Regions from separate parts of the Homo sapiens genome. Here all the other regions are linked to region 1. The links are contacts of gene promoters, found by promoter capture Hi-C in blood cells and fetal thymus (Javierre and others, 2016). All regions are on one chromosome and are shown on one strand. Each heading gives the region's core, a stretch centred on a gene start or on the middle of the fragment in contact. The rest is flanking DNA. Distances are from core to core; before and after follow the strand shown.

Region 1 (4,191 bases), core at 1,176-3,675:
GGACGTGGGCTGCTGGTCCGAGAGGTGGCGACGGAATCGCGTGCCTATATGTATGGGGGAGTGGAAAGTCGCAGGGTGTGTTTCCACGTTTCTTGAGCAGCCCGCGGCAAGAGTTGCTGAGTACCCCACCCCCCGCCCCCAGATCCTAAGGCAGCCCCTCGAGCTTTCCAAACGTATTGTATCCAGCCCTCCCGAGAGTGGAGTTGCACCAAGGACAAACACTCTAGCGTCATTACAAATTTTTTCTGCCCCTTGGGCGACCTCCAGATGAACCCTGGTGACTCTCAGATTGGATTTTCATTCCTTACTTTCTTTGAAAGAAAGTGCCCCAGATGCGTCAATAAAACATGCCTATGTATTCGTGTAGGCGTCCGCATGCCTGCGCGCCGGCCGTGTGCAGGCGCCGAAGCACACGTCTGTGTGAACACACGGGCACGCGCGTCTTTGGGTTTAGTGGTCCTTCCCTCGCGTTGGGGCATCTGTACACATGCAGAATATACACATATGATTGTAACTTCAAGTTTTTTCAATTATGCAAAACGACCTCGTAGGAGCACTTGCAGTGATTTAAGTAGAATCGCCTGAGCACGCAAGTGCAGGTATAACGTGCAATTTACCATTTTGCAGTTGCATCCTTCTTCCCAGCTCTAGACACTTACACCTGATGCGCATGTGTAAGACCCTAGCTCTTCAGTGGTGCTGGCTGTGATTTTGCCAACAGAGATAAAATTCGTGCTGGCTGTGTTATTGCCAACAGAGATGAACATGTGTATTTGCACACATGAACACAAGTTCATGTGCTTGGGCATTACACGCATACATATATTTGTGCACACATATATTTGTGTGTGAAAGTTACTTACACACGTGAAAAACATGATTTCATGCCTCAACTCTGTACCCTGTGAGGTAAACCGCAGGTCCTGACTATCCCCTTACCTGTCCTGGCAAACAAGTCATTTCAGACTGACACCCGCCTTGTCCCTATTAGACGGAGCCAAACCTGCCTCCGAAGCAGACCCAGATGGGACTCTGTAACCGAAGTGCTTATTCAGTTTTTGTCTACAATCATTTTATTTCCTAAATCCCTCCCCCACCAGACACCTGGGTATTTCCCTCCAGTCCCCAGGAGACTCTAGGGTGAGCCTGAAACCTGGAGGCTGGGGGTAGCAGTTGGGATTTACCCAGCACGCTACTTTGTTGGCCCCTGGGGAGGTGGTGCAGCCAGGCGGGTAAGGAGGACTCGCGCCATCAGCGGGGTCTGAGACATGGTGTGCCCAGTGGGCAGAGAATAGGCCTGTGGTTTTTAAGAACCTCACTGATATCGAATGTGTCTTGGAGTGAGAAAGTTTTTAATGGAAAAGGAGCAAGAGAGAGTAATGAAATAATTTGCTAAGTGCCTACTATGTTCCAGGCATTTTACATCCACAGTCTCTTTCAATCAACACGTCCATGCGGAGGAGAGCTTCTTGTCGCCCATTATAAAGGTCAGAAACAGGCTAAGGGAGGATAAGTCACTGCCTAAGGTTACAGTGCATGTAAATGGCAGAGCTAGGATTCGAACCCTGGCCTTTCTGAGTTCCTAAAGCCATGCTCGCCCCCACTCTTCCAGGCTGGGGAGAGACCGGGAAGAGCGAGAAGCTACACGCTGGGCTGCAGATTGGGCCCTAGCGGGCTTGGAGCGTGGATATGCTGGCTGGCCCCCCTCCCCGGGAGTCACAGCTCTCGCCGGTCTCGCCACTCAGGCTCTGCCGGGTACCCAGGAGGCTTGCACGGCCGCCTGCAGCCCGCTGTGCAGAGCCCGGGCCGAAGGCGGAGCTCGATGGGAAACGGCCGGCCGAAGGCTCTTGCAACTCTGCCACAGGCCTGCCTTCCCGGGCCTCCCAGGCGGGTGCCTGAGGCCGCGGCTCCAGGCCGAGGGGAGACCGCAGTGAGACGAGCATCCCCTTGCTGCGCCTTCTTAGGATAGAGGGTTTAATTTTCCTTTCTGAAGATATCGCAGGAAGCTGTTCGTATCTTAAAAACTCCAAACCCCGCGCTCTCCCTCCTCCCTGCCTCCCCCCCACCCCCGCCCTCCAGCCTCGCCCACCAGCTCCCACCATCTCGACTCTCCTCTGCTCCTCTTGCCTCTCCCCTCCCTCTTGGGTCTCCCGCCTTCCCGGAGCACGCGCTGCCAGGGCCTGGGGCGCCGAGCGGCCAATGGCACGGCGGCAGGACGTGATGTCAGGCGCGGCTGTAGAAAAGGCGCGGAGGCTTGCGCTGGCGCGGACTGCAGAGCCGGGGCTGGGCTAGGCGCGCGCTTGGAGAGCATTGCGCGCGGCTGGGCCCGCGGCCGGCGGCTCCTCCTCCCACTCTGCTCCTCCTCTTTTTTCTCCTCCTCCACCTCCTCCTCCGCCTCCTCCTCCTCCTCTTCCTCCTCCTCTTCAATTCTCCCGGTGGCTCGACTCGGCTCGCAGGCTTCGGAGAAACCCCTACTCCAGTCGCCGACTCAGCGCCCAAGAGGGTCGCCTTGGGCTGGGGGCGCACCCCAGGGAGGGGAGGGGTCCAGGCAGCTGGGCCGCCGCGGACACCTAGCGGCTTCAGGGTGAACCCCGACCGCAGCCGTCGCCGCCTCGGGCAGAGTTTGCGCCCTTGCTTTGCGCCCCGGGCGCTGAAGCCGGGCGGGCGATGCCCGCGGCGTGAAAGCGCCCGCGGCGGGCGCCGACCTCTGTCCTAGTCTCCTGCTCCCCCCGCCCCGCTTGTCCCGTGCCCTTGTGACCCTGGCTTTGGCGCCGTCGCCCAGGCGCCCCGCAATGTAGCTGCCCCTGCGCCTCGGCGGGAGGCGTCCTGCCCCGCGAGCGCCCGGGGCCCGGAGCCCGGCCTGGGGGCTCAGCCGAGCTCGGGCGGGGCCGGGGCCGCGGTGGCGATGCACCGGGCCCGTTAGCGCCAGGAGCGCCAGGCAGCTGAGGCGGGGGGCAAGCCCTCCCTCGGAGGAGCCGCGCCCCCGGCCCCGCCGGTCCCGCCGCGATGCTGTTCCACAGTCTGTCGGGCCCCGAGGTGCACGGGGTCATCGACGAGATGGACCGCAGGGCCAAGAGCGAGGCTCCCGCCATCAGCTCCGCCATCGACCGCGGCGACACCGAGACGGTAGGCGCGCGGCTGTGGGGTCGGGGCTGAGAGCTGGGATGGGGCCGGGCCAGTCAGCGCCTCTGCTCCCCGAAGTTTGGGGAGCGTCCTTCGTGCCGCACGGGACTGGGTGCTGGGGATCCTCGGTCAGAATGCAAGGCCGGTGGCTCCCGGTTCGGGGGAAACCCGGCTGCTGGGACGCAGAAGGGAAACAAGGTTGAAACCGAAATCTCGGCCCTGGGGGTAGAGGAGAGCGTTTCTTCCGAACTGGAAGCGAAGTCCCATCCGCGGCCCGGGGCGGCTCCCTTCTCACCTTGCCCGGTGCCGGGGTCGACAGCCCCGCGCTCTCCTCCACCTCTCGGCTCCGGTTGCTGGCGGCGCCGCGAGCGGCGCCAGGGAAGGGCGAACCAGCTGGGAGCATTGGGGCTCCAGCCGGCTTGGGCCGCTCCCAGCTTTCCGGCAATCGGGGATCCTCCTCAACCCCCAGCGCAGTTTCAGAGGCCGAAGTCTTCGGGGCCAACATTTGTCGTTGATCGCGTCCCCAGACCCTTGACTGGTCAGACTTAGCCAGGCCAGGGCTGGGAGTTCAGGCTCCGGCCTGGCCCTCGCCGAAGGAGACTCCATTTGGATCTCTACACCTGGCTCCGCGGGCCCAGCCCCAAATAGCCAGTTCCTCGCCTCAGGCCTCCCTGGGGGCCAGACGAGCAGACACTGCCCGACCAGCGGGCCCAGAAGTGACCTTTAGGAGGCCGCGGAGGTGGGGAGCACGGGAGAAGCTTCTCTGCTCCGGGAGCAGGAGCAGCGGCGCCAGTGTCCTCCCGGCCTCTGAGCGCTTCTTCGGTTAGACCTTCTCTGCTGGTCAGTTTGGATAGGGAAGTATTTGGGTTGAACCTGTCCTTCACCCACGGACTTTGAGGGTGTCCCTGCACCCCACTTACCTCATCCCCGGACCCAAGAGGGCCCCAGCCCGTGTGGCAGAGGAGCCAGAAGTTGGCTGACTTGTCCTGGCCTTAACCTCTGGTCTAAGGATCCAGGGATCACTGGAGCTGGGGCCCAGGAACTCCGCTGTCTCTCCAAAGAGGATTC
Region 2 (4,191 bases), core at 739-3,238, 510 kb before region 1:
AATTTAGGTCTTGATCTATTTTGAGCCCACTAACTTTCTAACATGGCTACAGAGAAACATTTCTGAGCAACATGAATAACTTTCTAAAAATTATTTAGGGGGAGTAGTGAGCAGACAGACTGAAGCTCAGTTCCCAGCTTTGCAAGATCTAGCCGTGACCATGGCTGCTATGATGAAGCCTTAGTTTGCTCATTGATTTAGCAGGGATAATACCACTCACCTCTTAGGCTTTTTGGGGAGAGTACATTAAATATCATTATGTCAGGTGCTTCACATAATACCTGGCAGGTGGTCAGTGCTTTGAGATGGAGGTTATCTACGGCATGCTATCTACAGAAGCGCAGTGTTAAGATGATGGACTTAGGAGTTAGTCAGATGGATTTGAGACCTGAATATCAGCCATGTGACCTTGGCATAGTCAACTACTCTCTTTATGCCTCTGTCTCCTTATTCATCAAAGTGGAACAACAGCAATATCTTTTTAGATGGTTTCAAGGAATAGCTGGGAGTGTATTTAAGAGTACTTCGCACAGCCCCTGGCACTGGTATGCCCTCAACAAATGGCTTCAAAGAGCCATGGAAATCTTTAACATCAGTCTTCATCTTCTGCCTGCAACCTCTTAACACTCAGCCCATTTCTGTAACAGCCACCAATGTTATCTATGAGCTCTTGAAAGGCTGCCAGGCAGATGACTTTAAATAGCAGCATCTGGCCAGTCTTGAGCTCATCGGACTCACGTAAAACTCACATATCAGCATTGAGAAGGTATAGATTACATTCAGAGGAGATTCTCCTTGAAATGTACCCTGAAAAACTTCAAGTGCAACTAGCTGTCTAATGCCTGATACTTTCTGATACTATGACATCCTCCCTTCCCTTTTCCCACCCCTGTAGGCCAGCATAGTCTTTCTAAAATGCTGATTGGATTCTGTGTTTCTAATGACTAGAGCTCCAGTGCATCTCCCCATCACCAACAGGTCTTCTGCCTCAGGAGGGCTTGATGGTCAATGAGTCTGAGACACACTGGGTTAAGCCAAGTTCAGTCTGGGCAATGGCTGAGGGTCCTGTCGGGTCTTTATCGTTCCCTGTGTGCTTCTGACAGGGGAACTGAGTCATCTGTACTCCCAGGGTCTTGGCTCTTTTTATTCAAAGAATACCCATTTCTACCAGTTTGAAAAACATTGGCCATACTCCTTTGAAAGGAACTTCTATGATTCTGAGGTTTTTCACAAGCCTTCCTTTCTGGTTTTATCGTTCTCTTTGCTTCTTTCTCAGCCCACTTCCATGCTGCAAGCACACAGAAATGATCATTTTGCCCCAGTAGGCTGTGCCGTCTATTCTTGAGCATTTCAGCCTGGAATGAGTTGCCCTTCGCCATCTGGTGAAACTGCACTCGCCCTTCGAGGTCCCGCCAAAATATCCCCTCCTCTGGGACACCTGCCCCTCACCTCATCTCACCTACCCTACCCTGTTGTACTTTAACAAGGGATGACTTCTTGACTCTCTTTTCACCCCCACTGGGAGGTAAGCTCCTGGAAGGCAGGACCATGAATGGTTTGTCTTTGTATACCTGACACTAGGCCTGCACGGGATGCATGCTTATAACATTGACCAAATGCTCACAGAACATCAGAAGGAGCCACTGGAAAATGACAGAGTGTTTTTAAGTCTGATTTAAATGTCTTAGGTTTTATACAGTTAAAAAATTTTTCATTTCTCAGAATATAAATCCTTAGCATCTGACTACAAATTCTTAGTGGATTTCAGAACATCATGTACTTTCTGCTCTACTGAATACAGAATCTGAGGGAGGCAGAGCCATGGGTCTTTGGAGACCTGCTGACCCCGTGCTGTCATTTTAAAGACGAAGAAACTGAAGCCCAGAGAAGAGAGGCGCTCAGGCAGGGCCGGCACTCCTGATGCCCAGGCCAGCAGTTCCCTACAGCTCTGTGGACTACCAAGGCAGTTCTTCAGGGGCATGGAGGTGACCAATCAGGGCCTCACAATCCAAATGCCTCCCCATGCCTAGCTAAGCTGAAGAGAACTTCTCCATAATGACACCAACATGTTCTGCTTGGTAATTATGGACCCAACAGTCACGATGAACCACAGCACATACAGAAAAGACTACAAGAAAGCGGCGACAGCATGACACAAGAACCCACCCCCCTTGTAAAAGAAGAGTTTTGCTGGTGTTCACTCTTAATGTTAAATAATGAAGTCTTTAGACAGTCACATATTTCTGCAAGATAACTCTGAAGGAACTCCGTGATAATTTGGCATCAATACCCAACTTATGTTACCTAACATATTTTAGCAGCTACAACTCCCTGCGTGAGATATTCTATATGGACAGATCTATGGTGATTGGTAAATTACAATATGTACAAGTACAAATGCTTCTAGGAAATGGGGCTTTATGTAAATATGTGATATTTTGTACAGAATCCATGCTACTTACTTACATACACAGGTTGCTATAGTGGAGATGTAAACAGATATACCTTGGAGAAGATAATGTTTGTCTTTAAAGTGACTTGGGCTTATTTCTTCTTTAAACAATGGATTGCGAAGTGGGATTCACAAGCACCCTCCACATTTTGAGGCATGTAGGCAACATAGCTTTAAAAGAGTTAACATATCCCTACCAGAAGTCCTAACAAATTGAATCTTATTTAATTAGATATTGTATTTGGGGGGAAAAATGAAATAAAATTATTTCATTAACTAAACCAAACTCCCTTAAAGGCAACAATATGTTCCTCTCTGTCAGGACAGAATGGAATGAAATCTTTATTTTAATTGGGGTCAGATGAGGAGCCATTTGGCTTCAGATGCTTTGTTTATCAGCCCTGAGCTTTATGGCTGAACCGGAACGTGAAATATTCCATTACACAACCGTTCCACTTAAAAGCCCACTTTCCCAATGATTTTTCATATGTTAAATGCTGTAAATATAGCCCAAACTAGCTTTGAAATTTAGAAATAGAATATTTAAAGGTCCCCCAGCGACACGAGGCTCTCGGATGGCCTTGGGTCAGAGATGCTATTTCTTCTCTTCAACAACGTGGCCTCCCTTAGACAAGTGCCCTGTGATCAAGAGGAGCAGGCTAGCAATGCCATCCTCTGTGCCGCTGCTCCTCAACGTGAGTGAGTGTGCCCCCTTCATGCGCCTGAGCCGAAAGTTTCCAGAAATGATAAGCATTCACCAAACACCTCCGAGAGCCCACACAGTATGGTGATTAAGAGCAAGGACTTTGGAGCTAGACATTTTGCATTACAATTCTGACCTTAATGCTTCCTAGCTGTGTTACCTTGGGCAAATCAATTAACTTTTCTGTGCTTTAGTTTTTTCATCTGCACAACAGAAAAAATAATATTATTTACCTCACAGGGTGGTTGTGAGGATTAAATGAGTAATATGTATAAAGTGCTTTAATTAGTGCCCCGCACGGAGTAAGCACTATTTAAGAATTATTGGCCAGGCAGTGGCTCACGCCTGTAATCCCAGAACTTTGGGTGGCCGAAGTGGGCGGATCACTAGGTCAAGAGATCGAGACCATCCTGGGCAACATGGTGAAACCTTGTCTCTACTAAAAATACAAACATTAGCTGGGCATGGTGGCGTGCACCTGTAGTCCCAGCTACTTGGGAGGCTGAGGCAGGAAAATCAATTGAACCAGGGAGGCGGAGGTTGCAGTGAGCCGAGATCGTGCCATTGCACTCCAGCCTGGTGACAGAGTGAGACTCTGTCTCAAAAAAAAAAAAAAAAAAAAAAAAGAATTATTACTATGATGATTATTAATAAGTGTATCCACATTTATCCTCATAACAACTTACAGAGATTAGGGTAATTATGACTGTTTCACAAACGAGGAAATAGGCTCAGAGAGATTAAATTACCTGTACAGGGTCACATAGCCAGAAAGTCACAGGAGTGGGGTTGAACCCAGGTTTGTCTTCAGTCCAGGGTTCTTCCCACCAAAAGATGTTGCTTTGAGGGCAAACAGAATAAACACATATTCAAGCTTCAGAACCCAGAGATGGCTCAAAATTTCCTTATGCTCTTTCAAAAAAAGGCTGGGCACAGTGGCTTAACGCCTATAATCACAGCACTTTGGGATGCTGAGGCAGGCAGATAACTTGAGGTCAGGAGTTTGAGACCAGCCTGGCCAACATGGTGAAACTCA
Region 3 (4,191 bases), core at 1,179-3,678, 490 kb before region 1:
GTGTCTGGTTTTTGTTTCTTTTCCCTCTCACCTTTTTACTGTACAAACTACATTCAAATAAAAAGGAAGAAAAGAGGGAGAAAGAAGAAATTTCAAACACGGTTCTACCATGTATGACAGGACTGAGCTGCTGGAGTACAGGTTCTTATTGTAAACACAGATCCTCACGCCGAGACACATTACCAAGACGCGGTTCCCCAGATGAAATTTCATCCAGCTCCCCTGTGTGCCCATGCTACGCTTCTGCCTTTAGGGGCCAGTGCACCGGGTAAGTTTAATTTTTACAAATATCTCAGGAATAGGAAGACAATTTTTCTGTTGGTTATCAGGATTCTTGGAGTATTATCATGAAAGGTTTCAAATACATATGCAACACCCATGCTCAAATAAGCCCGTGGGAGGCAGCCTCGTGGTTAAGGGGCTTGAGAGTCCAATTTGGATTTTTATCTTGGCTCTGCCACCCCTATTGTTACAACTTTGGGCAAGTCACTTACCTTCTTTGGGCATCGACTTCCCCATTTGTAAAAAATAAGATTAAGTGAGATACCCATATGACATTTAGCTTGGAGCTTGGTATAGCATCAGTGTTCCAAACAAGCTATAATTACAATAAAATTGTTCATAAGATAATCCTTAAGTTTCATGATTCCTTAAAGAAGGGCCTTCCATGCGGAAGGACAGGGGAGCTGGCTAAATGCCAGTCCACTGAAATCTGGCTTCTCTGTGTCACCAAAGGCTGGCCTCCTTCCTAGAGGAAGTGTGGCCCAATGAAAAGAACACAGGTCTCAGAATCCGTCACAGTGATTGTAAGACTGGGATCAGACTGGGATCTAATCCCAGCCATATACTCACTGGCTGTTACCATGGGTTCCATACTAAATCTCTGCCCTTCAGCTCCCTCATCTGTAACAGGGATGCTACCATCCCCCGACCTATCCCGACCCACTGCCCAGTGAATCTGTGTAAGAAATGACAACGCATGGGAAGTGTCTAGTACGCTGCCTGGCACACAGGAGGGACACCACCCATGCCGGCTCCCTTCCATTTCTTCTAATATCAGTTCTCCCCAATTACATTCAGGTTAAAACCAGAAGTTCTCAGTACACAATGAATGGGGCCCTCATGGCAGGAGGGCACAGGAATGGTATGGTTGGCTTTAAAAAGATGACTAAATTGCCCAACAATGGCAAATATATATAATAAACCTACCCCACAAATGTTTTATTTGGTTTCAAGGCCCTGCTGAGCCTGCATCCTGCTACCCCCTTGGACATGGGGTCTGTGTTGCTCATTCACACAGGGAAAATTGGCGGAGCCCTCTCTCCCACCCAGAGCTGCTTCTTGTGCCCTCTGCCAGAGGATGGCAATGTCACAGGAGCAAGGGAGCTGCACAATGCCCAGAGGTTTATGAAAATACGTATCTGAAAAAGGGAATGCTGTGCAGAGAGTGGTCGTGTGGGCAGGCCTGGTGCATGGGAGCAATTAGAGCTGGTTTGCAACAACTAGTGCTGTTCTATTCAATTGCTTAAAGAATTGCCATAGCAACAGCAGCCACACATAGTAAAGTGGCAGCAAGATGGAGCAAACACTTGAAAAAGACCCTCTTTTACTAACCCTCCTCCCTTCCCCAAAATGAATAAAGGGCCATTTTGTTTCTCTGAAATAGTCTTCCAATCAATGTCCATACTTCACACCAAAGTGGGTGACCAGATGCCCATTTTTATTTTCTTCTTCTTCTTGGTGTTAATGATTACAACTGCAGCTCAGCTACCTTTTAATGAGCTCCTACTATGTCCTGGGCTCCGGGCTGATGAAAATATCACTTAATTCCTTCAGCTGACACTGACTGGGAGCATACTATATCTGCATTGGAAACATGAGACGTCCCGGATGCTGTCACAGCCTGCAAGAAGCTTGAAGTCTAGAGAGATGGAGCCACAAGCAGATTTGCTTTTGATAAGTGGCAGCATCTGAGCCAAGTCTTGAACAAACACTTTAAGAGGCCCCACTATGTGCTAGGAATACAGACGTGAATAAGAACTGAGCTCTCTTTTCCTTCCAAAAGCTCACAGTCTAGTGGGGCAGAGAAACATGGAGGTAAAGCATTAATGTGAGGCCACATCTAATTGCTAACATATGGGAGTTAGGAGACCACAATTGGTAACATACTTAACAAACCAAAACAGATTTCAGGAGGGGTAAAGGAGGGAGGGTTAAATGTTTAGAGAGTGTTGCCTCCGATCAGTCCATGGGCTAGGTCTGTTAGCTGTGTTGTGGATGAACAATACTCTAACCCCCTTACGTGTGACAGCAACAGGATGGAGGCCACTTAGGCTAATCCCCAACAGCATGCCATGTGCTCTGCTCAGCGCTCCACATTCCTCATCTTGTGGAGGCCTGCCCCACAAGAACCGTGCGAGGCGGTAACTCTTATTCCATGTGTATAAGAAGATACAGAACCAAAGCTCAAATCGTTGACTTGCTTTTACTGCTACACAGATAATACGTTACAGAGTTAGAGATCTGAACTCAAGTCATCCCAATTAAGGAACCTGTAGTATTTGTGTGTTAGGCTACAGATTCAGATCGATGGGTCACCAGGTGAAAAAGTTCACAGCTTGTTCTTGGAATATTAGAGTTGAAATTGAAAAACTGTACTTTCATACTGTAAAGTTAACCTATTTCTCATGAAAAGGAAAACTAGCCAAAAACTTACAGTGGCAGCTTGTGGAAGAGCGAAGGCCAGAAATGTTGGTGGCTCAGTGCAAAGGGCTCTGCTCCTCCATCTACTTTGACTTGGAAATGAGAATATGATTCCAAGGTCAGGCTTTAGAATCAACTGGCCTGAAAAGTATTCAATGTATGGGCTATATGCAGAAAGCACCTCGGTCTGCTCTTTGAATCAATATTATAGTTGATAAGCATGAAAACTCTTCTAGTCCAGAAGCTTGAGTTTCTATGAGGTGATCATGGGCAGAGGACCTGAAACTCCCTCAACAACTAGAATCTCTCTAACAATTAAGGAAACAAGAGAGCAGGCCCTTTTGTGCCTGCTGAAACAGCGTGATGACAGAAGGGATGACTGGAGCATGTGGTATTAGAGAAAAAGAGTGAAGAATCTGCTGGCATGTCAGGGATGAAAAATACACGTAACCCAGGGTGCTGCCTTGGTACTGAATGCCAGGTCTTTATTATAATTACCCAGGGGGAAACCTTACTCCTTCCTGATGTCTGTGGAGAAGAGGCCACTTGATGGGGCTTCCTCTGGATGCTCAGAGATACTGAGAATAGGGCATCCTACACTGCACAGAGTAGGCACTCAGTAAATAGTCTTTGGATAATAAACGAATCATGCTGTCAACAATATGCTTCAGCAAACACAATAAAAGGATTCAAAACCTCTTTCAATGATATCTGCGGGTTGGATGGTCGGGCTTATGATAGGAATAAGTCCAGGGTGGATCTAGAAAGAAAGGCTGCAAACGCAAAAGCCTTCATGGGTCCACAAGGAATAGAACTGAGTGAAGGCGGCAGGGTGTAAGACAACAGTGAGTGGTGGCCAACACAGATGAGCCATGCCCTGTCTCCAAATATTTAGAAGCATCCAATTAAAAAAAGGTTACAAACACAGCACTTGACAAACAAAACACATTTAAGGGCTGAATTTGCTGAATCTGGCCTGCAGGCTGCCAGTTTGACCTCTGGTAAAGTGGCAGATGAACCAGGGCGGTCTTCCCGACTGGAATCTCTTCAATGACAATGTCTCAGGCTGCCCTCTGATGGAGGCTGGGCAGTAACAGTTGAGGCTGTCTTTCAAGAGGGGGTCACTGTCCCACGTACTCAACATTTGTACCTTTGTGCTCTTTACTGATTGGTGAGCAGACAGTGGTATGTGCTCTTGTTACAGCAACTGGGGAATATAACCAAACGCCTACCTCCGACTTAGCTACCTTGCAGGAGGAGATGGGAAGAATTTCAACCCAGACTGTTTCACACCTGGAAAGCTAGAGAATTGCATTTTAATAACTGAAAAATGAGGGAAGGACAGGGAGTAGATAGGCACTGCATACCTCTTATCGCTAAGGCGTTCCATAGCCCTTGGCTCACTAGCTTCTCTGACTACCTTGGGAAACAGGCATAGTCACTCTACTTGATAGATAAGAATGCTGAGGCTCCGAAAAAGGAGGAGAC
Region 4 (4,191 bases), core at 504-3,003, 450 kb before region 1:
ACAAGCTTGCACTAAGATCTGAAGGATGGGTGAGGGTGGTTAACTCAGCAAAGAGGGGTGAGCACCGCGTGCTAAGTACGGGGAGTGGTGTGCAAAGGCCCTGCAGCGAAGAAGAGTTCAGGGAACAGAAAGAACCCTGGCTTCGGTGGCGAAAATGAGGGGAATATGGCTTGAAATGAGGCTGGAGAGAAAGGCAGGGGCCTGAAGGGATTTTTTTCCTTCATCTTGAGAGAGAAACAGAAAACTAATGATTGGTTTTAAGCATGCAGGTAACATATCAAGAGCACGTTTCACAGAAACTAATTCTGTAAGAGACCAGCTACTGGTATGACATCATTTAAAGACAAAACTTAGGATAAAATAGAAAATTAGATTTAGGTGGTCCATGAATCCTTTACAGATTTTTAGTATGAATGAGTGAAGATTATTTTTCTGGGCGCAGGATCCACAGCTTTCCTCAGATTCCTAAAGGTGCCTGTGACCCTAGAAATATTAAGAATCACTTGCTGAGAAGTCTGGGGAAAAAAAAATCCGACCTGGGAAGGACTAGATCATACTTTAGAAATGATCCACGCACATTAGGTCTTGTACCCAAGCTTCTGATAAGAAAAACTTTTAATAGCTTATTGAGACATATTTCACATATAAAATTCATTCATTTAAAGTACACAGTTCGGTGGTTTTTAGTGTAGTCACAAGACTGTACAACCATCACTACTAACTCCAGAACATTTTTATTACCCCCGAAAGAAACCTCATACTCATTAGCTGTCACTCCCCATTACCTATCAATTTTTCCCCCACACCAGACCCAAGCAACCACTCACCTTCCTTCTGTCTCTACAGGTTGGCCTACTCTGGACATTTCATATAAATGGAATTAACAATAGGTAGTCTTTTGCCATCAGATTATTTCCCTTAGCACAGTGCTTTTATGAACAAGGTTCGTCCATGTTGTAGCATTGTGTCAAGACTTCATACTTTTTATGGCTAAATAATATTCCACTGTATGGATAGACCACATTTTATCGATCTGTTCATCTGCAGATGGACATTTGGGCTGTTTCTACTTCTTGGCTGTTATGAATAATGCTGCTACGAAGATTCATGTGCAAGCTTTTGTGTGGAGACAATGGAAATTTTGAGGTGACAATCTGAAAAGCAAAAATCCTCTGCCAGACCTTATGCAATGAAGACAAGCTGGAAGGATACATGAAGTCACCAAGCACAGTGCTCAGTGCCTAGGAAGCCATTCATAAATGTGAACTGTGTACAGGAAAACAATCCTTTGCTGTTGATAAAGGGCGTGCCTCATGTTTGGACACTAAACTGAGTGAAGATGGGACTGATACCCTCCTCTGATAAGTTAGAAGCCATGGGGACGTGCCCAGCGCTTTGGGAAGCCAAGGCAGGAGGATCGTTTGAGGCCAGGAGTTCAAAACCAGCCTGGGCAACACAGTGAGATCCCATCTCTATAAAAAATATAAAAAGATTTAGCCAGCCATGGTGGCACCTGCCTGTAGTCTCAGCTACTTAGAAGGCTGAGGTGGGAGGACTGCTTGAGCCCAGGAGTTTGAGGTTGCAATGAGCTATGATTGCACCGTGGCACTCCAGCCTGGGTGACAGAGTGAGACCCTGTCTCAAAAAAAAAAAAAAAGGAAAAGTAAAAAGCCCTGGGAACATACACTGAGGGGGTAGTTATCCCACCTCTACTCCAAGAGGGGACCATGGAAAACAATTCCTTTGGAAGCAGTTTGAAGTCTACCTCAACATCCGGGTATCTATAACTGATTTATTATGACCTCCCCTTATCAAGGACACATAAGCCCCAGCCCCACAGTGATGAGAGCCCCTGAGGAGCAATGCAGGCCACTCAGCACCCAGGCTGACTCTGCCATGGACTTCCACCTACAAAGAGAAGTATGAAAAAGCAGCATGCTCTATTAACATGCTAAAAATACTACCCACTCCCTGCCCCTGCCCCCAAAATAAAAATAAAAATCCTTCCCCTCCCAGGGACTACAGTGACATTTCCATCCTTTGAAATGGTGCAAGCCACTGTCGCTCTCCTTCTGGCTCCTCAAGGGCCTTGGGCCACCTGTGCCGCAGATTATTCCTCACTTAACCTTCCCTGGCCTTTCTCTTTCATTCGGGAGGTGTTTAATTACCTTGGATTCACAACGCTGCACTTCAGGTGAGCCTCTCCTAATGGCCTCATTACCATTTTACACAAAGAAGGAGTCGTTGATTGTAACTGAGCAAATACGAGTGTGTCCCTTCCTGCCTGCCCCAGCTGGTCTGAAACTAGCCAAGTGGTCCTGGGCTCCTGATGCCCCTGTGACCACTTAGGCCAGGACTTCTGAAGACCTCTTGTCACCCTGAAACATGGAGAAGCTTTTGTCTTGACCTGCCAGCACCTCAAACTTTGAAACTGCAAGTATCTGTGCATCTGATCGCTGGGGAGTAGCATTTGTCCTTTAAATAAAAGTAAGGGAAGACAATTTCAGGTTTAAACAACACAGAGTCATATATCTAAAGCTGAACTTGCCCTCAGTACCCCGAGGGGTGCTGGTCAAATCATTAACATCGGGATTCATCAGGGGTAATTTGGGTGTGTTGTAAGTGCTGGTGAGGATGGCTTCCTCCTTTAATCGGGTGTTATAGGAGGAAGACAAGGCAAAGGAAAGAGGGGGCAAAACTGAACTTGCCAGCTTCTGTCTAAGACGCCCTTTCCCCTCTGTGTGCCATCTTGGTTACCGCAGCATCATCCGGCCAGTCTCCTGGGCCAGGCGTCAGATGTCAGATTCCCTACTTCTCCCTCCTTCCCACAAACATTCTCCACATCTCCTCAACACCAACCCAGATATGCCCTGAATCCATCCTCTCCTCTCAGTGCCCATGACATTGGCCCTGCAAATTCAGCTCCATCACCCTCTCTGGCCCAGACTAGTGGAGCGGTTTCCTCAGTGGGCCTTCTTCTGCCTTCAGTTTCTCCTCAATGCCATTCACCCATATCTGTCCTAGTAATCTTGGAAAAATCCAAATCCAATCACTTTGATCCTCCATCAAAACCCTTCGGTGCCCCCGCCCTTCACCATCATCACCTTCAGAAAAACATCCAAACTTCCACGAGCAGACTGTGCAGGCTGTCCTCCATCAGCCTCACTTCCACCTGCCCCACTTAATGTTAAACTTGGATGTCCAGAAGCACAGGCTACTCTTCAGCCCATTTCCATGTCACTAGCTCAGTCCTGGCTGTCTCTTGTCCCTTCCTGTCCTGCTTGTGAACATCTATTCAGCCTCTGAAAGACCATCCAAGTCTCCATCAATGGGGGCCTCTGAAATACATTATCCCGCATCCTCACCAGGAAATATCACATAGCTGCCAAAAAGGACATGGCGGTACTCTATGAACTGACACAAAAAGATGTCTGTCAAATACTGTCGAGTGAGGAAAAACATGCAGGTTGCAGAGTAACATGTACAGCATGAACCATTTAAAAATTATATATAAATATATATGCAGTAAAAATCTAAAATGCTACATTACCAAACTTTAACCATGCAAGGATGCTTTCACTTTCTATTTTACACACTTGATTGTTTTGATTATCCTTTATAAAAAAGCATATGTTACTTTTATAATAAAGAATTAAAATGAGGTATTTTTCTTTAATAGTCAAATTACCCATTGCCTTGGGTTAAGGGAAAGAGGGAATCCAGATGTCCCCCCATCTGTGAAGCCTGCCCTGACCACTAAGTCTGGGCCTCCTTGGACTGAGCAGGTGGTTCCATGGTGAGCTGCAGTTTCTACCTCCTTTCCTGATGGACTGAGTTCCCCGCAGGGCCAGCAGCCAGCACAGTTCTTGACTCAGTGTACTCATGCAGTACTTTCTGCCAAATGAAAGAACGAATGAGCAAGTGCTTGACATTGTGAAAGGCATTTTCAGTGGCTGAGCCTCTCTGCTTGGAGGAAAGTCTAGGATCACATTCTTTAGTGACGGATCATTAGAAGAAACTGGTCTCTGTTGGAAAGGATGGGAAGAGAAAGTGATATTCATTCCTCTTCTGTAGAATGCCATTGCTAAGACACAACCACAATGGCAGGAGAAATGAACATCTATCTGCATGCTGAATGAGTCAGAGGGAACAAGGAGACTGGTCTTATACAACCACAAACTTACCACATCC
Region 5 (4,191 bases), core at 942-3,441, 430 kb before region 1:
GGGATGAAACTCTTCCACCTCAGATCATCAGGCATTAGATTCTCATAAGGAGCACACAACCTACATCCCTTGCATACAAAGTTCACAACAGGGTTCATGGTCCTTTGAGAATCTAATGCCGCTGCTGATCTGACAGGAGGTAGAGTGCTCAGGTGGTCATGCTCACTCGCTGCTCACCTCCTACTGTATGGCTGGGTTCCGAACAGGCCATGAACTGGCACCAATCCACAGCCCAGGGGTTGGAGACCCCTGTTGCAGAATGTTCCCAAATTTGAATTTCTCAGAAGTCTCTGCATGATTAGAGTGGATTTTTGGAAAGAATACCACAGAAGTGAAATATCCTCATTACATCACATCAGTGGTTATATGATATCCACATGACATCACTGGTGATGTTAAAATTGATCGTTTGGTTAAGGTAGTGTCTGCCAGTTTCTCCACTAAAGTTACTCTTTTTCTCTTTACACACACAGTTTTTTAGGAATAAATACATTCTAGCCCACACCCAAGTAGGGGCAAGGGGCGATTAAGCCCCTTCTGGACAGGACAGTCTTTACAAATATTATTTGGTATACTTGTATAAGGATGATTTGTTTCTCTGCCCCCCAACTCTCTTTTGATCAGCATTTGGCTGGTATATCTTTTTTATCCTTTTACTTTTCATCTATTTGACTCTTCATATTTAAAGTAGAATTCTTACAGAAATTATACAATTGGGTCTTGCTTTTTTATATAATAACCTCTGTAAATTGGAGTGTCTAGACAATGTATGTTTAATGTAAAAACCAACATAGTTGAATAAATCTATCATCTTGCTAACTTTTCTATTTGTTCCATCTGTTGTCATGTTTACTCTTTCCCCACAAAATGTTTTGGACCTTCAATACTGGCTTATTAGCTATATATCTCTGTCTTATTTTTTCCTCCCTTAGTGGCCCTTGTAAGGTTTACAACATAAATCTCTAACTTAATACAGTCTACCTTCAAATAATATTATGCCAGTTTTTGTATACAGGTAACGTAACAACCTTTAAACAGAATACTTCTATTCTCCACCCCCTACTGGTATTATTACCAGCAGAATACCTCCACTGGTATTATTTTTACTTGAAATACTCAATTAACTTTTTTAGAAATTACAAATGAGAAAGTAAATTTCTTACATGTATCCATATATTTACTATCTGTGGTTCTCTTCACTTCCTTACAATTCAGATTTCCCTATAATATCATTTTTCCCCGCTGAAGAACTTCTTTTGTAGTGCAGGTCTGCTGACAATGATTTCTCCAATTTTGTATCTGTTTTAAAAAGTCCTAGTTTTGCCTTTTTTTTTGAGATGGATTCTAGCTCTGTTTCCCAGGCTGGAGTGCAGTGGGGCAGCCTCGGCTCACTGAAATCTCTGCCTCCTGGGTTCAAGCGATTCTGCCACCTCAGCCTCCTGAGTAGCTGGGATTACAGGCACCCGCCATCATGACTGGCTAATTTTTGTAGAGACGGGGTTTCACCATGTTGGCCAGGCTGGTCTTGAACTCCTGACCTCAGGTGATCCACCTGCCTCAGTGCTTTCATTTTTGAAGGATATTTTCACTGGATATAGAATTCTGGGTTGATAAAAATTATCTTTCATTACTTTAAAAATGTCATTCCATTGTCTTCTGCCTTAAATGGTCTCTGGCAATAAGTCTGCTAGAATTACTTCTCATACCTTTTTCTCTCTGGCTAATTTAAGCTTTTCTTGGTTTTGAGCAATTAATCAAAATGTATCTTTGTGTGGTTTTGTTTGGGTCCATTGTGTTTCAGGTTTATTGAGCTTCTTGGAGCTCTGAGTATAATTTCATCAAAATTGAAAAAAAAATCAGCTATAATCTGTTAAAATATTTTTTCTGTCTTTCCTCACCTTCCTTACCTTCTGGGACTCCAGTTGCAAGTATGTTAGCCCTCTTGATATTATGCTATAGGATCACTGAGTTTTGTTAACTTTTTCCAGTCTTTTTTCTTTCTTGGCTTCATATTGAGGAGTTTTTATTGCTATATCTTCAAATTCACTGATGTTTTATTCAGTGGTATCTCATATCCTCTTAATCCCATAAGTGATTTTTTTTTCATTCTAGGTGTATTTGTTGCTTATAGATGTTCCCTTTCATTTTTAAATATCTTCCATTTCTCCCTTCATTTAATCAGGTCTTCCTTTAAATTCATGAACATATTTATAGTCTTCATAAAATCTACTTTAAAGTCTTTATCTGCTAGTTCTATCATATCTGTCACTTCTGAGTCTGTTTCTATTGACTAATTTTCCTCTTGTTAGGGGTGACATTTTCCTCATTCTCAACATGTCTTGCACTTTTAAAATAAGATGTTAGATACTGTGAATGTTATGTTATCGAATATTGGATTGTGTTGCCTTCTTTTAAAGAGGGTTGAAGTTTATTTTGACACAAGGTTAGATTTCTTGCACATCAGATTGATCTTTTAAAGACTTCTTTAAAAAGAAATAGGTTTGTTTAAAACTTTTCATCGAAGTTTAACATACACACATAAAAATGCACACACCATTGGTGCTCAGCTTGACGAATTCACCCCCATGTAACTGGCACTCAGATTAAAATCCAGCACATTTTAGGACCCCTAAAGCCCTCTCTTGTGCCTCTCAAAGCTTAATTTTAAGCTCTTTCAGGGCAGGGCTAAAATGATCTTTATAGCTAATTTAGATGTACTATCAAGTCATGCCCTACTGGTGTCTCTTATCATTGTCCTGAATGACCAACAAGATCTCTGACTCTGGTTGGTCAGAACCTGCAGGATTCCTAGACTTGTGTGAGCTCTGAGAACTGTTCATCTTATAGTTTCCTGTCAGGAGTTTTACCCTACATATGGGCAGATTAGTCTTCAGCAGGTTTGTCAATTCAGGTTTCTGGAGCTCTTCAGCTGAGTAGCTCCCTCCTGTCTGATACTCTCACTTGCAAATGTAAACCATCTCCCCTTCAAACTGTTCTTTAATCTTTCAGCTCCCCAAGACTGTTGTGCTTTGCTGGGGATTCCCCTTCTAGTACCAATATCCAGAAAATGCCTCAAGGCAGAAAGCCAGTGGGATAGTAGGCCTCACCTCACTGGCTTCCTTTCACTCAGGGATAACAATCTTGTCTTGTCTGTTGTCCAACATGTGAAAACAGCTGTTTTCATATTTGTCCAGAGTTTTAAATTGTGGGAGGATTAATCCAGTTCCAATTATTCTATCATGGCTGGAGAGCAGTGGCGCAATCACAGCTCACTGCAAACTTGAATTCTTGGCCTCAAGCAATTCTTCTGCCTCAGACTCCCAAAATGCTGGGATTATAGGCATGAGCCACCATGTCTGGCCCCAAGCCTCTTTTAATAAAGTTTCCAGCGTAGATGCCATGTTTTACAAGATTTCATCTACCATAATAACCCAATCCATATGTGCCTTCCATCCTTCCATCTATCTATTCAGTGGCTGCTAGATTCTTGGAAAACAAAGATGAATAAAACTCAATTACTGCTACTCCAAAAAACTGACAAGTAAAAGGGAAATGGGCAATAAATCAGTACAATTACACAAGGTACACAAGGGGCTGTGGGGACATAGAGAAAGATATGGTCAAATCTACGTGAAGGTCAGAAAAGATTCAGTGTGTGTTTGTGTGTGTGTGTGTGCATGTGTTTGTGTGTGTGTGTGATTAAATACTTGAGAGCAGGTCTTGAAGAATGAGTGAGAGATTAATAGATGAGGTAAGACACTGGGACAAAAGAAATGCTGCATACAAAGTATGAAGTTATGAAACAACATGTAAATTTGGGACAACCATTAACAGTTCTAAAAACCTACAGTACAGAGTTTAAAGCAGGGAGGAGAGAGAACTACAGCTATGGAGAAACAAAAACAGGGGGGTATCATGAAGGAGGGCTGAATGCCCTGCGGATCATAATTCACATCCATAATTCATCATCATCAGCTACTGTCGATTGTGCTGATAGGATATATGTTTTAAATATATTATATATATTACATTTAATTCTCAAACAACCTTATGTGGAAATTAAGTCTTAGAGAGCTTAAGTAATTTTGCCCAAGATCACACGGACATGAAGTGAGGAAGCCAGGATGTGAAAACAGGTCTGTTTGATTTCAAAGCCAACAAAGGGAAGTTGCCTTGAATCTCTAGGTAATG
Region 6 (4,191 bases), core at 790-3,289, 410 kb before region 1:
ATTCTAAACTCTTTATTTCCTCCTGAAATCTCAGATACACAAAGAGGGAAGAGTGACATTTTCCTTCCCTTCCTCAGGCCCCAAAGGTCACCAAGCTGCCAAGCAGTTGATGAACGCAGTGGCTTTTCTTTGGAGCCAAGAGTCGCTGATTTGCTCCTTCCTGCTCCACAAAATTAAAAATCTAAGCCTGACAGTTCAGAGGAGCCCTGAAAACACCGCTGGAATTTCCCAGTGTGCTTTAAACAGAAACAGAAGCTTGGCAGAGGAGGGAAGTGGTGTAAGCACCTCCCAGGTCAGGCCAAATCCACCCCTCACAAGGTAACAGGCACTGACTCTCATTAACAAGTCCAGGGATTCTCAAGCCAGGTCAGCAAAGGGGCTCTTCCTCTAATGGCCCCTTTCCTGGCCATCGATCCACTGGGTGTTCATTCACTCACTCATTTGGTACATCACGTATGGAGCCGTCATTCATGTCAACTTTACGCTAGGTCTTAGGGACACAGAGACGATTAAACCATGATCTCTGAACTCAAGGGGCTCCCCGCCTCTCCTTGTGGATGGGCTGTGGGTAGATCTGAGAAAGGGCACAGTAGTATGCAGCAGACCAGTGGACCATTCCCACTCACCCACCAGCCCCATTCTCTCCCCGACATGGTCCTGGGCCCAGGGCCAGAAAGTCTCCAGGCTGGGGTCCTGGCCTTTTCACTTACCAGCTAGGCAGCTTCAGGCAAGGCACTCAGCCTTCTCTAGCACCAGTTTCCCTTGCTGTGAGCCGAGGTCATGCTCCTTACCTTCAGGGTTGTTGAAAAGATTGGGGGAGACACTGGGAACACATGTTTCATACAGAGTCCACCATCAAGCAGACGCTCGGTCAGTGCCAGCTGGCCCCCCTCTGGGAGCTGGGTTCTGCCAGTCCTCCTAGCAATCCACTCTAGAAATCCACCCCAACACAGAACCTCCATCCAGCCTGGCCTCCACTCTGCCATCCAGAACGGAGTGGGGAGCCTACTCACACTCTGACTCTGCTGGTGTTTTGTCTCAAACTGAAGCAGGCTTCCCACTGCTGCAGACTCAGTTTCCTCATGTGTAAAAAGAGGACAAGAAAGGTGTCAACACCTTTCCCCACAGCTGCAAAGCACAAACATGCGATGATATGGCAGAGCACTCCATAAGATGAGAAGCATGGCCCAGAGATAGCTCGCCACGTTACTGCCACCCAGCAGATCCTGCTCTTCTAGAAAACCCTCCTGACTACTCCTATCCCCGCCTCAGGTTGTCATCTCTAAACCCCATGCCAAGCACAGTGAACAACAGATTCTTTGGCCTGCAGTTAAAACTTGTTTAGTGATGTTTCCTGTGCGCTATCACTTTCCCCTTAAAATAACTGCTTTAAACCTTACGCTATTCACATACACTGTGGTAATGTTTACCACTGGTACCTGTAAAGCAGTGTTGAATTTTTGAACATACCATATTTTATATTTACCTATATTTTAGAATGTATTATTTTAAAATATCCTCAAAGCAACCTCTTGAAATGAGCTTTATTATTCACATTTTACAGAAGAACAACCTGAAGCTCCAAGAGGTACAGTAATTTGCCCCAGATCATAGAGTATCAGAGTTAAGATTTGAGCTTGGGATTTGACCCCAAAGCCTGGTGCCTTTCTCCTCGCTGTGCAGCCTCCTCCACTTTCCAGGCACAGAGCTGGTGCTAAGCAAATACTGAGGACAGTGGCCACTTCCACACGTCTCTTGTGACCTCCATGTATAGACTTACCAGAGTGCTGAAACACAGTGGCAAGCAAGCCCTAAAAGTAGGGCCAGTATAATAGTTTTCTTTTGTACACACTAAACTGCTTCATGCAATGAAATAACTGTGTTTGAATCCTGCTCCTCCTAATTATGTGTGTGACTTTGGACAAGTTACTTAACCTCTCTGTGCCTATATTTCATCATCTGTAAAATAGGGGCCCCACTACCAGAGCACAGATGCATTATGAAAATTAAATAATGAGCATAACGTGTCTGGCAGTAGTTCAAAATAGCATCCATCCAAAGTGAAACAATAGAACTTGAATTTAAGAGTTTCACTGGGAGTGTGGGGGATGTTGATTCCCTAGTCCCCAAATGGTTTGGGGTCACCCTATCATAAAATAGGACCTCATTCCTCCCACACAACTGCCACTTGCCATCATTCATTCATCACTAAGCACTGCAAAGCCCGACTCCCATCTCCACCTGCCTTTTATTTGAAATGTCAATTTTTAAAGAGTGGAGAGGTTGGAAACCCAATTTAACAAGCACGCTGAAACATTGTTTATTGCCCCCATAAACATGGCTTAGTGAGAATTACGGACTTAATCAGAGTGAACTTATCTTGCGGTGAAAAGGAACACTTTAAATTTCAGAAATGGCACCTTCACTGTGAAAATCTCTTAACTTTTCAAACAAACTACAGGGGGTCTTAAACATATGGGCAGTAAAGGGGCAGCTATTACTTTGATTTGTCCTACCCACGAGCCTAGGAGCCCTCACAGTCCTTAACAACTTTAAGATCTAGGAAAAATACTTGGAAAATCATATTCAGGAGACATGTCTCTAAAAGCACCCAAAAGGTCTGCAGAGTGAGAAGTGAGACCTGTATAGCTGCTCTTGGGGTTATTCAAAAGGATGGGCCCTAGGGTCATTAGAACAGGGGCTATTTAATAAGCAGCAGCAGTGAGAAAGTGCACCCCTCCTCCTAAGATTAAACATTTAGCAATAGGTAATATTTTGCTGACCTGCTTTTCAGAAGAGAGGTGCTACACAAATCTAAAAGGCTGCTAAATGGTTTGTGTGGGTCTTCTTTATTTATAAACCCCCTCCCTCCTGCTGAGGATGACGTCCTATGAACCCCAACTTCCCAATCTGAGGCTTCATTAATGCTACTCAGATCATTCCAGGGAAGGTTTTCATAAAGACGACCCCATCTTGCAGACAACGTATCAGCCTGGCTGCCAGAGGCAGGAAAGGCAATAGATATAAAATTTTATTATTTCAATGCCCCAGTAGCAGCCAGGAGGACTTAATGAAATCGCCAAGATTTACAATCTGAAATAGCTATTGCACAGACAGATACAGTTAAGGGAGCTGAGCCCTCTGACCTTTCAACCCTTTGATCTTCACTCGGCAGGTGGCCTGGAGCCCCCTCCTGGGCATCTTCCCTCTCTTCTGACACTGCCAAACCTTGATGTGCAATAAGCCTGACCCTACACAGGTGACTCTCCCGGTGCTTATCACCAGCAGCTGCTGCTAATGGCACGGCCAAAATCACTCCGAGGCAGGGAAGGGGAATATACTGTGCAGTGTCCAAATGGTGCTGAAACAAGGCTCAATAACTCAGCCCCAAGTCCAGTTGTGCAGCAGTGCATAATGATGTCATTACCCAAAAGTGTCCTTAGAAAATGGAACTCTGATCTCCCCTGATTTACACTTTGAGGTTGGGGGAGGGGGGAAAATCACCTTTTAAAACTCAATCACAAATCTCAAAAAAAAAAAAAAAAAAAAACCAACCCCAAAGTCCCAAATGCATCTCTCAGAACTTCCCCAAAACCATGTGCAGCAAATTTATACCAGCGAAAATCTAAACAATTTTTGGAAACCTAAAATTGACTGTTTTCAGTTCCATGAAATTTCATTTAAAAAACCCCATATGCCAAAATGTCCAAATTCTCTTATTTTTAAAAATTGGGATGACATCCAAAAATCATAGCTATCTTTTTCTTTCTTTTTTTTCCCCCTTCTTCTAAAGCTAGGGATGGGTAGTGTGCATATGTACTTATCAAGCTTCATAATTTAACCCATTCGGTCAGTACAAAATATTTGCAGTTAAATGCTGAAGAGGGAGGATATAAATTTATTACCACTGGATCTTTGGAAACAACGGACTCCTAGGCACCAAGGTTTAGCAGACATTATATTTGGCTAAGGAAGTGTCCAGGAGTCTAGGCACAGCTCCAATCTGCACCTTTTAGCTTTTGTCAATATTTGGGTTTATGGAGGGAAGGATTTTAGGCAAGACACATAAACCACTCTCAGGGATGTTGATAACTTCCAACCACAAAACAAAACTTCAGTGCCACTGTTCATCATACTTCAGAAAAGCCCCCAGTCAATGCCTTTGTTTCTAAACAAACATAGAATGGTGGT
Region 7 (4,191 bases), core at 1,125-3,624, 400 kb before region 1:
AAAAGAAACCCAGAATTTCCTGAACATCTCAATGTGGTACTTATCCAATTGGGTAATTCTAGGTACAGTCTGAAAACAATTTCTATTCTCACTGTATCTCAATAATTATTGTAGCTACTGACTCAGTTTCTTGGAACCTCTTCTTTGTCTTTTTATTTTTAAAAGAAATGTTTGGGGAGAAAAACACCTACCCATGATTATATTATCCTAACACAATTACTTTTTCTTTTGCATTCCTTTCTAATACTGGCTCACATTAACAGCTTTATATCTTTGAAATTATAAAGTGCATACATTGTTTTATTTTCTCATTGGCTACATGAACATTTCCCAGATTGTTCTATAATTTTTGTGATTATTAAAGACTGCATAATATTCCACCAAATATGGATGTATCATAATTTATCGAATGCTATCCCTAGAGTAGACATTAAGTTGCTTCCAATTTTCTATAAGTATCACTGTGATAAAAATGAACACCTTCATGTTGCATGAATTCCTAGACACCGAATTACTAAAAATTAAAGGACAGGGCTGTTTCTTATCTTTTGTTATATCCTAGCAAAGCATTCTCCAATAAGGCAGTACCTGGCCTAGTAGAAATCTTTCAGGATTGTTGTAGAGATTAGAGACAACCTCTGACGTACCTGGCACAGCAGCAGCACATGGTAGGGTTTTCTCTGAGCCCCTGGCATGGCTGGCACCATTGGACCCACTCTCCTATTACCCACAGAATGGTTTCTTGTTCCAGCCCTGGTTCTGTAGCATACCCGCTCTAGGATACCTGGTAAACTGCTGGTAAGAATGGTCAAGATGCCATGAGGAATGGGAGGTGCTTGACAGGCACACACCATCTCTACACATGGATTTCTGACTCCCAAGCACACTCTTGTCTCCCGGATACTCCACTGAGTTCAGGAGGGTTGCTCATCACTCTCGTCAGGAGGGTGCCTTTCCTTTCTAATGTACCACCAATAACGGAAAAACTATCAATGAAACAATGGTTCATGACTTTCTGATCACTTGGACACATTTTTAAAAACCTCTTATCACTCTTGAGCATACATTAAAAATAAAACAGCAAAATAAATTGGGTAAGCTATTTAAAAAAAAAAAACTTCTTCATATTCAGAATCCAACACATCTGAATCCTTTTCTAATTCAGAGGCATAAACGTCCATGTTTTTCCAAGGGTATCTCAGTTACAAAACCAAACCAAAATCCATCTACTAGAAGTGATCTTCCTGTTTAGGTTCAAGAAAGAACTTATTTGTTGCTGTTCTAGAAAACATGAATGGAAATATCTGCTTCAGTAATAGCAAATGTATATACTCTGCTTCTCTTCTCCAGAGCCTTTTAGCATTCACAGTGACTTTACCTTTCAATATTGAATCATAGTGCAATTTTGAAGACATTTTAAACGGCAATTAAACAACATGTGCAGAACCAACAATGCACATAATTAAATTAAAGTGGTGATAATATTAACAGTTATAACCAAACTTATGCATAGGCAGGTCATGACAACCATGTCACAACTGCTGTATGACTGACAGTGATTGTAGGATGCTATTGTACATCCTGGAATAGCAGAATGGGGTATATCTGTATGAAGCTTTTGTTCTCTGGGAATTACTGCACTATCTGATTTCATCAGTTACAAACGTGAGAGTAAAAGTGACTCTTTTTTCCTTCTCCCCTGAAAAGGAAAAGGGCTCTGTTGCTGGTGTTGAGGCAGACACAACAGAATAACCTTTACCTGGAAGATATCTTTAGTTTGAATCCTCTTAAGAGGAAAAGGAACTTTTATTGAGCTACTATAATTCAGTCACCTTTATGCATTACACACATAATGCTCAAGGGAACTCTGCAAGGTGGTGCGATCATCCATATTTTCAGGTTAGGAAACACGCTCAGAAAGATAAAATTTGCCAAGATCGCACAGCTGGTCAGTGGTGAAGCCGTACTTCAGACGCAAGGCTGCTGAACAGACAGCCCAAGCTCTGCACATGAGGTCACACAGCACATACTCAGTACTTAAGCTGAAAGGAAAAGAGCGCTGGGGTACCAAAAGGGCTATTCGCCAGTCCTCTTGGTTCCAGGCCTGTGATGCTGAGCGCTTCTCTGACAGGTAAGTCCTATGGCATGAGCTTATTCCCAGCAAGGAAGAAGCAAGAATATGGAAACTGCAGACTTACTAACGATCCTGTAGTCCTTGTTCATTATTACCGCACTTTCACAATTTGTTTAATTCCTTTCCCCCAGATAACCAGGGCTCTGTTAATCATGTTCCCCTGAGGTGAGCAGCTACTAATTGGAAATGAGTCCAGTGAAATAAAGGAACACTGGCTGCTTAAAAAAAAAAAAAATACAGCTTCCCAAGACAAAGTGGGAGGGGAGAGGAAACAAGGGAGAGGCGGTCCCTCCACCTCCAGGTGGGCAACACCTCTGCTATCATGAAGGAACACAGCTTAGGGCAGCCCAGGGATTTGGAAAGATCACTGTTTACACATAGGTATCCACGTTACAATATACACATCACAGTGTCACCTTACCTCTCAGAGGGCCACCACCTTCTTAATTAAATACCCTGATCAGGCAAAGGGGATCCCACAGTCAGAAAGAAAAACTCTGAAGGAGGTCTTATGTGAGCTTTTCTTTCTTTTTTTGTAAAAGACACAAACGTGTAAACACAGATTGTCTTGTGGTTTTAAATTCTGCTCGAAATAATGAGCCTGGCTTTATTAGAGAGGTTAAAGGACAAGAGAACGGGAAAAAGAAAAAGAACAGACACCAGAGAACATATCTTGCTGGAGAATGCGAATGATCATGGTTTTGGGCTTAGTGAGAGCGATGAGACAGCTGCTCTTCAGGCTAATGTAACTGCCAGTGTAGGAGAGGAAGCCAGTAAGAGCAGCCACCACTGACTGCAAATTTGCCAAGAGCCAGCATAGGCTAAGGCATTTTCCTCATTAGATTCTCACCATAGCAGCATAAGGAGGGTGCTATCAGAACTACCATTTCACAGATGGAAAAACTAAGATTGGAAAAGCTAAATCATTCATCTGACGTCACACAGCTAGTAAGTGGCAGAACTGGGACTAGAACCCAAGCCCATGATACGGGGATCAAGCAAGCTTCTTATTTCCTGGAGACCAGCATTCCCACAGCCTGCAGAGGAAGGAGGTTAGGTGGTTTTCTCTAACCTGCTCCCTAAGGGCTGGCCTGCAGCTGTGACAAGACCTAGGAGCTTCTACATTCTGTCTGAGCTCCTCCTCCCCTGCTACCTTTTCCATCACAGGAAGCTTCTGGTCCCTGAAGTGCCTCTGAGCTCATCTCAGTCACATGGTGGCCCCACAGGCCTCAGCTTCACTATTTCTTCAAGTCCTACTGAAGCCATGCTGCCTGCCTCTCAGATTGCCCAGTGGTGGCTAACACCTCTCTTGGTAGGGGCTTTTGTCCGGGTTACCCATTTGGCATAAAGCATGTGCTGATTTGAAGGGTGACTCTAGATTGTCAGTCACAAAAGCACAGAATCCTGTTTCCCAGAGCCTCCCATGGTGCCATGTGCAGAGCAGGAAGGGTAAAACAGTCGAGCTATTTACTGAGCACACACCACATTTCAAGGGCTGCATGGGAGGCTCCAGCCACCTTATCTCATTTAATCCTCAAATAATCCAATTTACACCATCCATTTTATAGCTTTTTTTTGAGACAGAGTCTTGCTCTGTTGCCCAGGCTAGAGTGCAGTGGTGCGATCTTGGCCCACTGCAACCTCTGTCTCCTGGGTTCAAGTGATTCTCCTGCCTCAGTCCCTCGAGTTGCTAGGATTACAGGTGCGTACTACCACGCCTGGCTGGTTTTTGTATTTTTAGTGGAGACAGGGTTTCACCATGTTGCCCAGCTTGGTCTCGAACTCCTGACCTCAGGTGATCCACCTGCCTCGGCCTTCCAAAGTACTGGGATTATGGGCGTGAGCCACTGTGCCTGGCCATTTTATAGACTTAAAAAGGTATTCTCAAAAACGTGCCTATGGGATCACCCAGTTAATGGTGATCCCAGCCCAAATCCTTCTACTTCCAAGTCTCTTACGCTACTCTTACTTGCTAGTGACTTCTCTTAACCATTATGCTACTGTCGACAAAAAATGGTTACTGGATAATTATAGCTAAAAAAGTAAAATAGCTAGTG

What was found. Contacts are between HindIII fragments. The CHiCAGO score rates a contact against its expected background, and 5 or more counts as called.
Region 2: a contact is called between a fragment that was not itself captured here and the fragment with the promoter of LHX2 in region 1, in 1 of 17 cell types (megakaryocytes). The highest score is 6.2, in megakaryocytes.
Region 3: a fragment that was not itself captured here is called in contact with the fragment with the promoter of LHX2 in region 1 in 4 of 17 cell types (endothelial precursors, erythroblasts, M0 macrophages and 1 more); the score reaches 8.7 in endothelial precursors.
Region 4: a fragment that was not itself captured here is called in contact with the fragment with the promoter of LHX2 in region 1 in 10 of 17 cell types (megakaryocytes, M1 macrophages, naive B cells and 7 more); the score reaches 10.7 in megakaryocytes.
Region 5: a contact is called between a fragment that was not itself captured here and the fragment with the promoter of LHX2 in region 1, in 6 of 17 cell types (megakaryocytes, endothelial precursors, monocytes and 3 more). The highest score is 8.7, in megakaryocytes.
Region 6: a fragment that was not itself captured here is called in contact with the fragment with the promoter of LHX2 in region 1 in 1 of 17 cell types (neutrophils); the score reaches 5.3 in neutrophils.
Region 7: a fragment that was not itself captured here is called in contact with the fragment with the promoter of LHX2 in region 1 in 4 of 17 cell types (M2 macrophages, megakaryocytes, endothelial precursors and 1 more); the score reaches 6.7 in M2 macrophages.

The regions. Positions count from the first base shown.
Region 1 is chr9:124,009,343-124,013,533 of GRCh38, forward strand. LHX2 (LIM homeobox 2) reads left to right here and starts at 2,426. Exons shown (of 5, transcript NM_004789.4): 1 at 2,426-3,126. The coding sequence starts at 3,007. LHX2-AS1 (LHX2 antisense RNA 1) reads right to left here and starts at 54. Exons shown (of 2, transcript NR_135129.1): 1 at 1-54. RefSeq lists a silencer at 2,350-2,399 and enhancers at 3,338-3,910, 3,911-4,191. The HindIII fragment of the contact is 7,434 bases long and covers 1-3,879 here.
Region 2 is chr9:123,502,824-123,507,014 of GRCh38, forward strand. All of the region lies in intron 13 of DENND1A (DENN domain containing 1A), which reads right to left. Among named protein-coding and RNA genes, the nearest start is that of MIR7150, 19 kb to the left of the region's middle. The HindIII fragment of the contact is 4,077 bases long and covers 1-4,027 here.
Region 3 is chr9:123,520,932-123,525,122 of GRCh38, forward strand. All of the region lies in intron 13 of DENND1A (DENN domain containing 1A), which reads right to left. Among named protein-coding and RNA genes, the nearest start is that of MIR7150, 37 kb to the left of the region's middle. The HindIII fragment of the contact is 1,034 bases long and covers 1,912-2,945 here.
Region 4 is chr9:123,559,048-123,563,238 of GRCh38, forward strand. The region is part of intron 12 of DENND1A (DENN domain containing 1A); the gene reads right to left. Among named protein-coding and RNA genes, the nearest start is that of MIR7150, 76 kb to the left of the region's middle. RefSeq lists an enhancer at 1,901-2,462. The HindIII fragment of the contact is 1,278 bases long and covers 1,115-2,392 here.
Region 5 is chr9:123,575,183-123,579,373 of GRCh38, forward strand. The region is part of intron 12 of DENND1A (DENN domain containing 1A); the gene reads right to left. LOC105376266 (a long non-coding RNA gene) reads right to left here. Exons shown (of 2, transcript XR_930332.3): 1 at 1-4,191. Among named protein-coding and RNA genes, the nearest start is that of MIR7150, 92 kb to the left of the region's middle. The HindIII fragment of the contact is 927 bases long and covers 1,729-2,655 here.
Region 6 is chr9:123,594,928-123,599,118 of GRCh38, forward strand. All of the region lies in intron 11 of DENND1A (DENN domain containing 1A), which reads right to left. Among named protein-coding and RNA genes, the nearest start is that of MIR7150, 110 kb to the left of the region's middle. The HindIII fragment of the contact is 3,573 bases long and covers 254-3,826 here.
Region 7 is chr9:123,612,237-123,616,427 of GRCh38, forward strand. The region is part of intron 10 of DENND1A (DENN domain containing 1A); the gene reads right to left. Among named protein-coding and RNA genes, the nearest start is that of MIR7150, 130 kb to the left of the region's middle. The HindIII fragment of the contact is 1,522 bases long and covers 1,614-3,135 here.